Linked DNA regions of Homo sapiens: region 2 is linked to region 1. The links are contacts of gene promoters, found by promoter capture Hi-C in human tissues and cell types (Jung and others, 2019). All regions are on one chromosome and are shown on one strand. Each heading gives the region's core, a stretch centred on a gene start or on the middle of the fragment in contact. The rest is flanking DNA. Distances are from core to core; before and after follow the strand shown. Region 1 holds the start of HSPB8 (heat shock protein family B (small) member 8). Region 2 overlaps SRRM4 (serine/arginine repetitive matrix 4).

Region 1 (3,981 bases), core at 426-2,925:
TGGGCCTAAAGCTGTGCATAGGCCCAGTCCCTACTCCACTCCTATTGCTGACTCATGGCATGACTGTGAACGAGTCCCACCTAGGCCTCAGCCTCCTCAGCTGCAAGATGGGCCTACCCTGCTACCCTGGAGTGGACTGAGGATGATTTTGGAGAAGTATAAGAATGTCAGCCCACCCTTGGCACCTAGTAGGTGCTCAGTAAATCATCACTTCTTCTTTCTGGCCTCCTAATTCCCAGACAACCTGGGTCTGACTCCTTGGTGGCCTTGAACAAGTTACTTTAATCTCTCCGTGCCTCAGTTTCCTCATCTGAAAAAAGAAGATAAACAGTACCCACCTCCTCTGGTTGTGGTATTAGCTGAGATATTATAGGCAACAGCAGTTAGCAAAGTGCTGAGCGAATAGTTAGCACTCAGAGTTACCAGTTAGTGTTACTACAATTACTGGTAAGCCTCAGTTTCCCTGTCTGGGACAAGGAGAGGTGTTTCACCGGAAACCAGTTGCGGTTATTAACACTATCATTGTTCAGCCTTAACGTGCACTTCTAGACTCTGTTATGATGCTGGAGTGCACAAAATCCCGTTTCTTCTTTGTTTTTTAATTCTTTGATATCTGCTTAACCTATTCTTTATATTAAATGCCCTCTGTCAAAATATCCAACATGGTTTCTATTTTCCTGTCTGTACCATGATTGATGAGCACCCAGAGGCCCCAATAGCTGAGTCAGGCAGGTTAAGATCTCTGCTGGGAGCCGGGAGAGAAGTTTTCCGTAAAGATAACTTTGCAGGCTGCATTCCTGAGCCCTGAGGTCACCTGTGTCACACTGTCCCAACGTCAGCTCCCAGGAAACTTTCTCTGGCTATTCCCAGGGCTGAGGGCTACATCCCGGCCTCCCCATTCTCTCTCCCTCCTGCCCCTGACTTACCAGACACCTCCACGTATCCATCTTTGGTCTTCACCATCAACTCCTCTGGCTTGAAGCTGTGCACATTCACACACACTTTCCAGGGCTCCCCAGGGAAGGGTGGGGGGGTCCTGCCCTCGGCAGGCACCCCAAACCTGGCGGTGGCAGTGGGGCCCCGGGGCACCATGCCCGACCTTAGGGTGCCTGGCCAGGCGGAGGAGAGACGAGGCAGAGCCCAGTCGGGCCAAGAGGCTGTCAAGTCGTCTGGGAAGGGGTCCATGCCAAAGCCATCATCCAGCAGGCGAGAGGAGAGGGGAGAGTCCCGGAAGGGGTCTCGGCGCAGGCGGCTTGGGTAGTGGCAGGAGAAGGGCATCTGACCGTCAGCCATGGTGGCTGCTCAGCTCAGAGAGAAACAGAGGCTCAGAGAGACAGAACCACCTGCCCAAGGTCACACAACAAGGTGGTGTGGCTGGGCTAGCTTATTCTTCAGCTTCCGAAAATGCTGCTTTTCTGCAGGGAGAAGCAGAACCAACCACTGCCAGGGACGGTTGTGTCCCCTCGACTGGGGTCCCAGCCCCCAAAGGTAACCCCCGGGGCAGATCCAGCAGAATCCCAGAGGGTCCCCGTCCGCACTGCCTCACGACAGACCGGCAAGCCACCGTCCTCCCAGGCTTCCCAGGCTGCCCAGGCTGGCAGCCAGAACCGCTGAGGTCTAGAGCGGAGCCAGGAGCTTAATAAACCCAGGGCACGCGCGCCTAGAAACTTCTTCTGGCTCCTTCTGGGCTGCAAGCCTTCTATTTATTTGCTGCTGGAGGCTGGAGGCGGGTTTTGCAAGCGTCTCCTGTCACAGGAATATTCGGAGGTGATGAACCAGCCCCGGAGAATCCGCGGAGGGAACAGCTGGGCTGTGGGGGGAGCTGGGAGGGGCCGCGTCCAAGTTCAGCCGGCCTCTCCGGACACTCTCTCCTCCCCTGGCCACTCCGCTCAGCTCCGCCCTCCTCTTGCTCCAGGAGCTGGAGCCGCCCTCCCCGAGCGGGGCACTAAGGCCTGGCTATTAATAACCCCGAGCCTGGCTGAGGGCTCAGGTCACCCTCTGGAAATACCTTCCCTAGAGCGTGTCGTATCCTGCCTTTCCCCTGGGGACCTGCAGAAAGGGAAGAGAGAGACAGGAGCCCAGTGGATTTGAAGGATGGCCCTGGGTTGCAATCCCCACTTACAAGATGGCCAAGCTCCTAGAGCCTCAATGCCCTCTGGGGAGATTGGTAAAGGAAAAAAAAAATTTTTTTAATGTGTATATATATATTCATATGACGCTTGTTAAAGTATGACAAGCAAGACTTTACTGGGCAGGGAAACTTTCTCCATAGATGTAGGGACCCCTGCAATGGGATTTTGCAGTGAGGGAGAAAGATTAGACTTGATTCCCAGTAGGTCATGGGTAAGTGTGAATTTGTAGCCAAGAAGCAGGTGGGGGGTCAGCGAATGGAAATTTACTAGGAGGGAAGTCCAGGAGTCAGAGGGATTCGGGCTCAGCTAACCTAAGAGGATTCTTGCTGAAGACAGGCCAGGGTGCTCAGACATCACCTGGGGGACCGCGGAGGATGAGGAAACTAATCAGATATCGAGGGTGATCAGAAATCGAAGATGGGTGGTTGCTACTAAACAGACTTAGCAGAGTTCATGCCAAAACTGAATTTTTCTTTCTTTCTTTTCTTTTTTTTTTTTGAGACAGAGTCTCACTCTGTCCCCCAGGCTAGAGCGCAGTTGCGCCATCTCCGCTCACTGCAACCTCCGCCTTCCAGGTTCAAGCGATTCTTCTGCCTCAGACTCCCGAGTAGCTGGGATTATAGGCACCCGCCATCGTGCCCGGCTAATTTTTGTATTTTTTAGTAGAGTTGGATTTCACCATCTTGGCCAGGCTGGTCTTGAACTCCTGACCTCATGATCCACCTGCCTCCACCTCCCAAAGTGCTGGGATTACAGACGTGAGCCACCTCGCCTGGCCCAAAACTGAATTTTTATAAGGAACCTCACTGATGGGCTTAGGAGAAGATTCAGAAATCCGATTAATGTTTGGTCAATCAAAGCATCTTTATAGGCAGTAACATTATTCCCAGGCACCTCCAGGTTGTTAGTTTTCCTCCTTATAAACGGACATAACAGTAGCCAACTCACAGATGTACCATGAAGAATACATGAGGTAATTCTCTTTCTCCTTGTATTTTCAATTTTGAGTTATCAATTACATAATGTTTGCTATATGCCAGGCCCTGCTCTATGGGCTTTATAAATATGAATTCATTTAACCCTCACCAGCAATCCTGTGAGGTAAGAGTACCAGTATTATCCCATTTTACAGATGAGAAAACTACCATAGAAGTGTTCATGAATAGTAGCTTCTATTATTATTATGACTGTTAATACTGATAATTATTGAAAGATGTTACACTCAGGCAGGAGGTCTGGTCTGAAACTCAAAGCCCCAAATCTAGACTTTCCTGCTCTTCCCATGCAGCTGGAAGAATGAATTTACAAATCCTCCTTTGGCTTGGAGGCCTCTTCGGCTTGGGTTCTAATCTTTGATCTGTCCGCAACAGGCAGAAAATTTTAGGCATGTCGTTTTCCCTGTGTGGGCTTTCGGGTCTCAGCCCTGCCTTCTTCACGAGATGAGGGTAAACTGAGGATATTAAGGAATTCAGTGAGTCATAGGTTGAGAAATTGTTTTGATATTAAACAGTGAGTGCATGAGGCAGTTTGCTAAAAATAATAATACGGAGAAAAACAATCACTGTCGCCCATTGCCTCCTGTGCGTCTGCTTTTAGAGTTAGTACATTTCAGACATTACTGAGTTAAATCCTGACTCGATAGTTAAACGTCACTATTATCATCACCCCCATTTTGCAGGTGAAAAAACAGAGGCACAGAGGTTTGACCCTTGCACACAGATATGGAGTGGCAGAGCCTGGGTGGGAACCTGGGTTGTTCTGAATCCCGGATCTGTGCTTAACCGACAGACAGAGACCCCTGCCCTCCTCCCCAGCTGAGAAAGAATGGTGGGGACCCCACGGCATGACA
Region 2 (3,981 bases), core at 790-3,289, 170 kb after region 1:
AAGCTACCTATAATTTTTTTTGTCTGTTCTAAATCTCTGTACTCATCGGAAACAAACAGAAAGTTTGAGGCAACACATATGACAGAAGAATAATTCCTTTAATATGCAAAGAGCTCTTACAAATTAAAAAAAAGAATAATCAAATTCTATTAAACGGATGAAAGACATGAAAAGGTAATCATAGCAAAATATAAGATTATCAACAAACATGCAAAGACGTGTGGCCTCACTCATTAAAGAAAGGAAGAAAAACAAGTATACACTACTTTCTAACTCTCAGAATGGATAGATGAAAGAGCTTGATAATTCTCCAACTTATCAAGTAATGATCAAGTAATGGTCAAGTACTTTGACCATCAAGTAATGGTCAAATAAAATGATTCTTATACCCTGGGTTGGGAAGAAGGGGAGGGTAGCATGCACACTTTGGGGTGGGCAATGAGACAGTATCATTTTCTGGAAATTTCTAACAATTCCGTTTCTAGGAATTTATAGTATAGATATACCCTCCAAGGTAGGCCAAAATAAATGTACCAAAATGTTTACAGTAGTACTGTTTGTTACAGCAAAAATCCTGAAAACAACCTGATTATAAATCAATAGGATATTGATTAAATAAATGATACATCTATACAATCAAATATAATGCAGCCATTAAAAAAATAACAGGGTAGTTCTAAATGCAGTCATATATTTTAAAAATCCAAAATACAAAGTTAAGAAGAAAAGGCAAGTTTCCCAGCATAATACATTGTATTTTCATATAAAATATTTCTGGAAGAATACATTAGAAAGCACAATAGTAGTTGTGTCTAAAAGAAAGGAGTACAAAGTTAAGATGAAGGAAATTTTGGGGTTTTTTAATACTTCTGCAGTACTTTTTATAAACCATTGTCATGTGTAACTTTTATGATTAAAACTCATTTACAAAATATTTAGAAGAAAGCAGATCATTCAGTACTGAACTTAAAATCTGAAAATCATATCATTTGAATCTTAACCCTGGTTCATGTTCTGTTTTGGCTGTGTTGCACTGGGTTAATTGCTTAGCCTCTCTGGGCCTGATTTTTCTCATCTCTGAACTGGAAATGCTACAGATTTGTTGTTGTTGACATTCTTTATGCTACAGGAGGGGCAAAATGGTACAGAAAGGAAACAGCCTGATTGACTCCAAAATTTTGTTTGTTACTCATGTGCAAACATTGATCTAGTATTCTTGAAGATCATGTCACTTAACTTAGTTAAGGAAACAATAATGATGTTTCCCCACTGTGAAGGCATATCTGGAGATGCTGGAGGGTGATCCAGCATTCACCTTTCCTTCTGCTAATTCCACCTGTGGCCTAGTGCATGCTGAGAGTAAATAGCATTACCTCCCAGGTTGATGTAAAACACCTGGTGAAATTTTTCTTTGGCGCCTTCCCTAAGGTTTAGAGGGTAATTGGGTCTGTCTGTGTCTTGGGTAGGAGTCAATGAAGATGTAGTAAATATCAACAGAGAAAATCACCAAACAGAGGAAGTATCAATAGAGACAAGAAAAGCGGAAATGCACAAGTGAGAAGTATCTGACCACATAAAAATAAAGGAACATTGTAGGGTCTTTGCAGAGAAATATCAAAGAATCATGGGTTAAAGAACAAGGATAGAGACCACATGTGGCTGAAGGAAGAATTTGGCTCAGAGAGCAGGAGTGCCCTTGAAGAAAGAGAGCGGGACTCAGTGGTAGACAAAGATCATCTTGGGGGAGTCTGTTAGTTGAGAAAGAAAAGAACAGACAGGTAGAAGAATGAGAACAACAAGAGAAAACTGTGTTCTTATAATTGTTATAAATTTGCCCTACAGTTCCAAAGTGGGGAAAGGCTGAGTATGGGGGCAGGGAATGTGGCCAGGAGAGAAGAATTCACAGAGTTCACAGAAAGCTTTGTCTCTGAGGAATGTTGCTAAGTCAGGGGATATCCTCTCGGGAGATATATCATGGCAACCTTGATGAAAAAGACCCCCAGGTGAGTCCAGTTCAGATGCCAGGTCATGATGCAGCGTTTCCATCCCCCCATGGGGAGGACTCATTCATCTCTATCTTAAGGAAGTGGCCCTTGGTCAGCAAATTATAAACCCTTGCTGCACGAATGAATGAATGGTGCCCTTTCATTTCAGGGCAGACATCTGAATTCCCAGACGATGATCCCAGGGAGGTGAAAAAGAAAAGCTCTGGTCCTCTTTTTCCATGTAAAAACTATTGATTTATATCAGGACACTGTCTAATATACAATTTACAAACATTGTCACCAAGAGCATTATGGCAACCATTTACTGAGCACTTAACTAGATATCAGGACAGTGCTAAATGCTTGCAGATGTTACCTTACTTAATCCTCAAATTCAACCTATGAGGTGGACACTACCATCATCCCCATTTTACAGGTGAGCTTAGAGCTGAGGAAGGCAAAGTGGCCTGCCCAATGTTGCCCAGCTGAGATTGGCAACCAGGTCTTCCAATTCCAAGGCTCAAGCTATGTGCAGTAAGATGCCCACAACTGACACTCGGCAATGGCACTGGTCTCCCTATTTTGTAGAAGGGACAGACTCAGGGAGCTTAGCACTGTCAGACTCCAATCACATGCTCCTCCTTTCACTGTGCAGCTCTGCCACGCCCCAAACCCATGGGAAGGCAGGAGACACAAACCAATGTGGCTTTTATTTTATTTTTTTAATTTCCAAAGTCTTAGACATCTCTTGATTTGCAAACGTTGTCTTAATGGTCCTGAGGTTTTCAGCATTTCAGATTTTTCTGACTAGATCATCTAGGGGTAGATGGAAATGTATCTCTAGATGAGTGATTCTCAACCAGTGGCAACTTTGCTCCCCAGGGGACATTTGGCACGGTCTAGAGACATGTTTGATTGTCACAGCCCAAAGGGAGGGTGGTGCTAATGACATCTAGTGGGTAGAGGCCAGAGATGCTGCTAAACATCCTGCAGTGCACAGGACAGCTCCCCACAAGGAAGTATTATCTGGCTGGCCCTAAATGTCAGTAGTGCCAAGGTTGAAAAACCTGACTATAGAAATCTAATCTTCTTCATAGTACTTTGTTTATTTGTTTTTTGCCATGTATGTGTCTTCCACCTACTCTTCCTTTTTTTTCAAATTCATGTTTGTATACATAACTAACACAGGAGGAAAGCTTGTGAATGATGAAAACATTTTTTATTAAATATGTAGTCACAGAGATAAAGCTAAAATATCCCCCTCTTCTTCATATGTGATGCTGTCATTGACAGTTTGGTGTACATCCTTTGAAGCATTTTTCTACACATATATATTTATATAGAGTACATAGTGTTCTTTTGTATACATAGATAGATGCTTTTTCCTACATGTATTATATAAAATAACATTACAACTTGTGTGTCATCCCACAGTTTGCTTTTTCCTGTCACAGTCTTTTAGAGATCTATGTTTAATACACATGAATTTACTGCATTTTTTCAACTGTTGTATTGTATTCCATAATTATGCATATTTCATAATTTATTTAGCCATTTTCCTAATTAAGAGCATCTGGGCTGTTTGCAGATTCTTCCTGATAACAAACATGGCTGCAATAAACACTCTTGAACTCACCTCCTTTTTCCTTTAGTGTTGACATCAAGAGCTGGTCATGGAGTAGGCAGATTTTTTAAAATTTTTGATAAATGCTGAAATATCATATTCCCAAAAGGCTGCAACAGTTTACACTCCTAACAGCAATGTATGAGTGTACGTATTCCCAGATATCTTTGCCAAAATGTGATATTACCACACTGTTTTTAGTTTTAATCGATCTGGAGGGTACAAAATGTGTAGTTTAAACTCTGATTGAACAAAGAGAACTCTCAAAGTGGACAAACCCCTTGTTGGCCTCCCATGTAAGGGCTGACACTTTTCATCTTCAACCACTTAATATATGTGGGGTTCGCAATGATTCATCTCAGAAAATATTTT

Evidence for each region. Contacts are between HindIII fragments. The study calls those that stand out against the background at their distance.
Region 2: a contact is called between a fragment that was not itself captured here and the fragment with the promoter of HSPB8 in region 1, in 2 of the 25 tissues and cell types used here (pancreas and thymus).

What each region holds. Positions count from the first base shown.
Region 1 is chr12:119,176,625-119,180,605 of GRCh38, reverse strand. It overlaps HSPB8 (heat shock protein family B (small) member 8), which reads right to left and starts at 1,675. Exons shown (of 3, transcript NM_014365.3): 1 at 927-1,675. The coding sequence starts at 1,293. RefSeq lists enhancers at 1,323-2,072, 3,252-3,981. The HindIII fragment of the contact is 13,927 bases long and covers 1-3,981 here.
Region 2 is chr12:119,010,357-119,014,337 of GRCh38, reverse strand. All of the region lies in intron 1 of SRRM4 (serine/arginine repetitive matrix 4), which reads right to left. Among named protein-coding and RNA genes, the nearest start is that of SRRM4, 31 kb to the right of the region's middle. The HindIII fragment of the contact is 5,955 bases long and covers 1-3,981 here.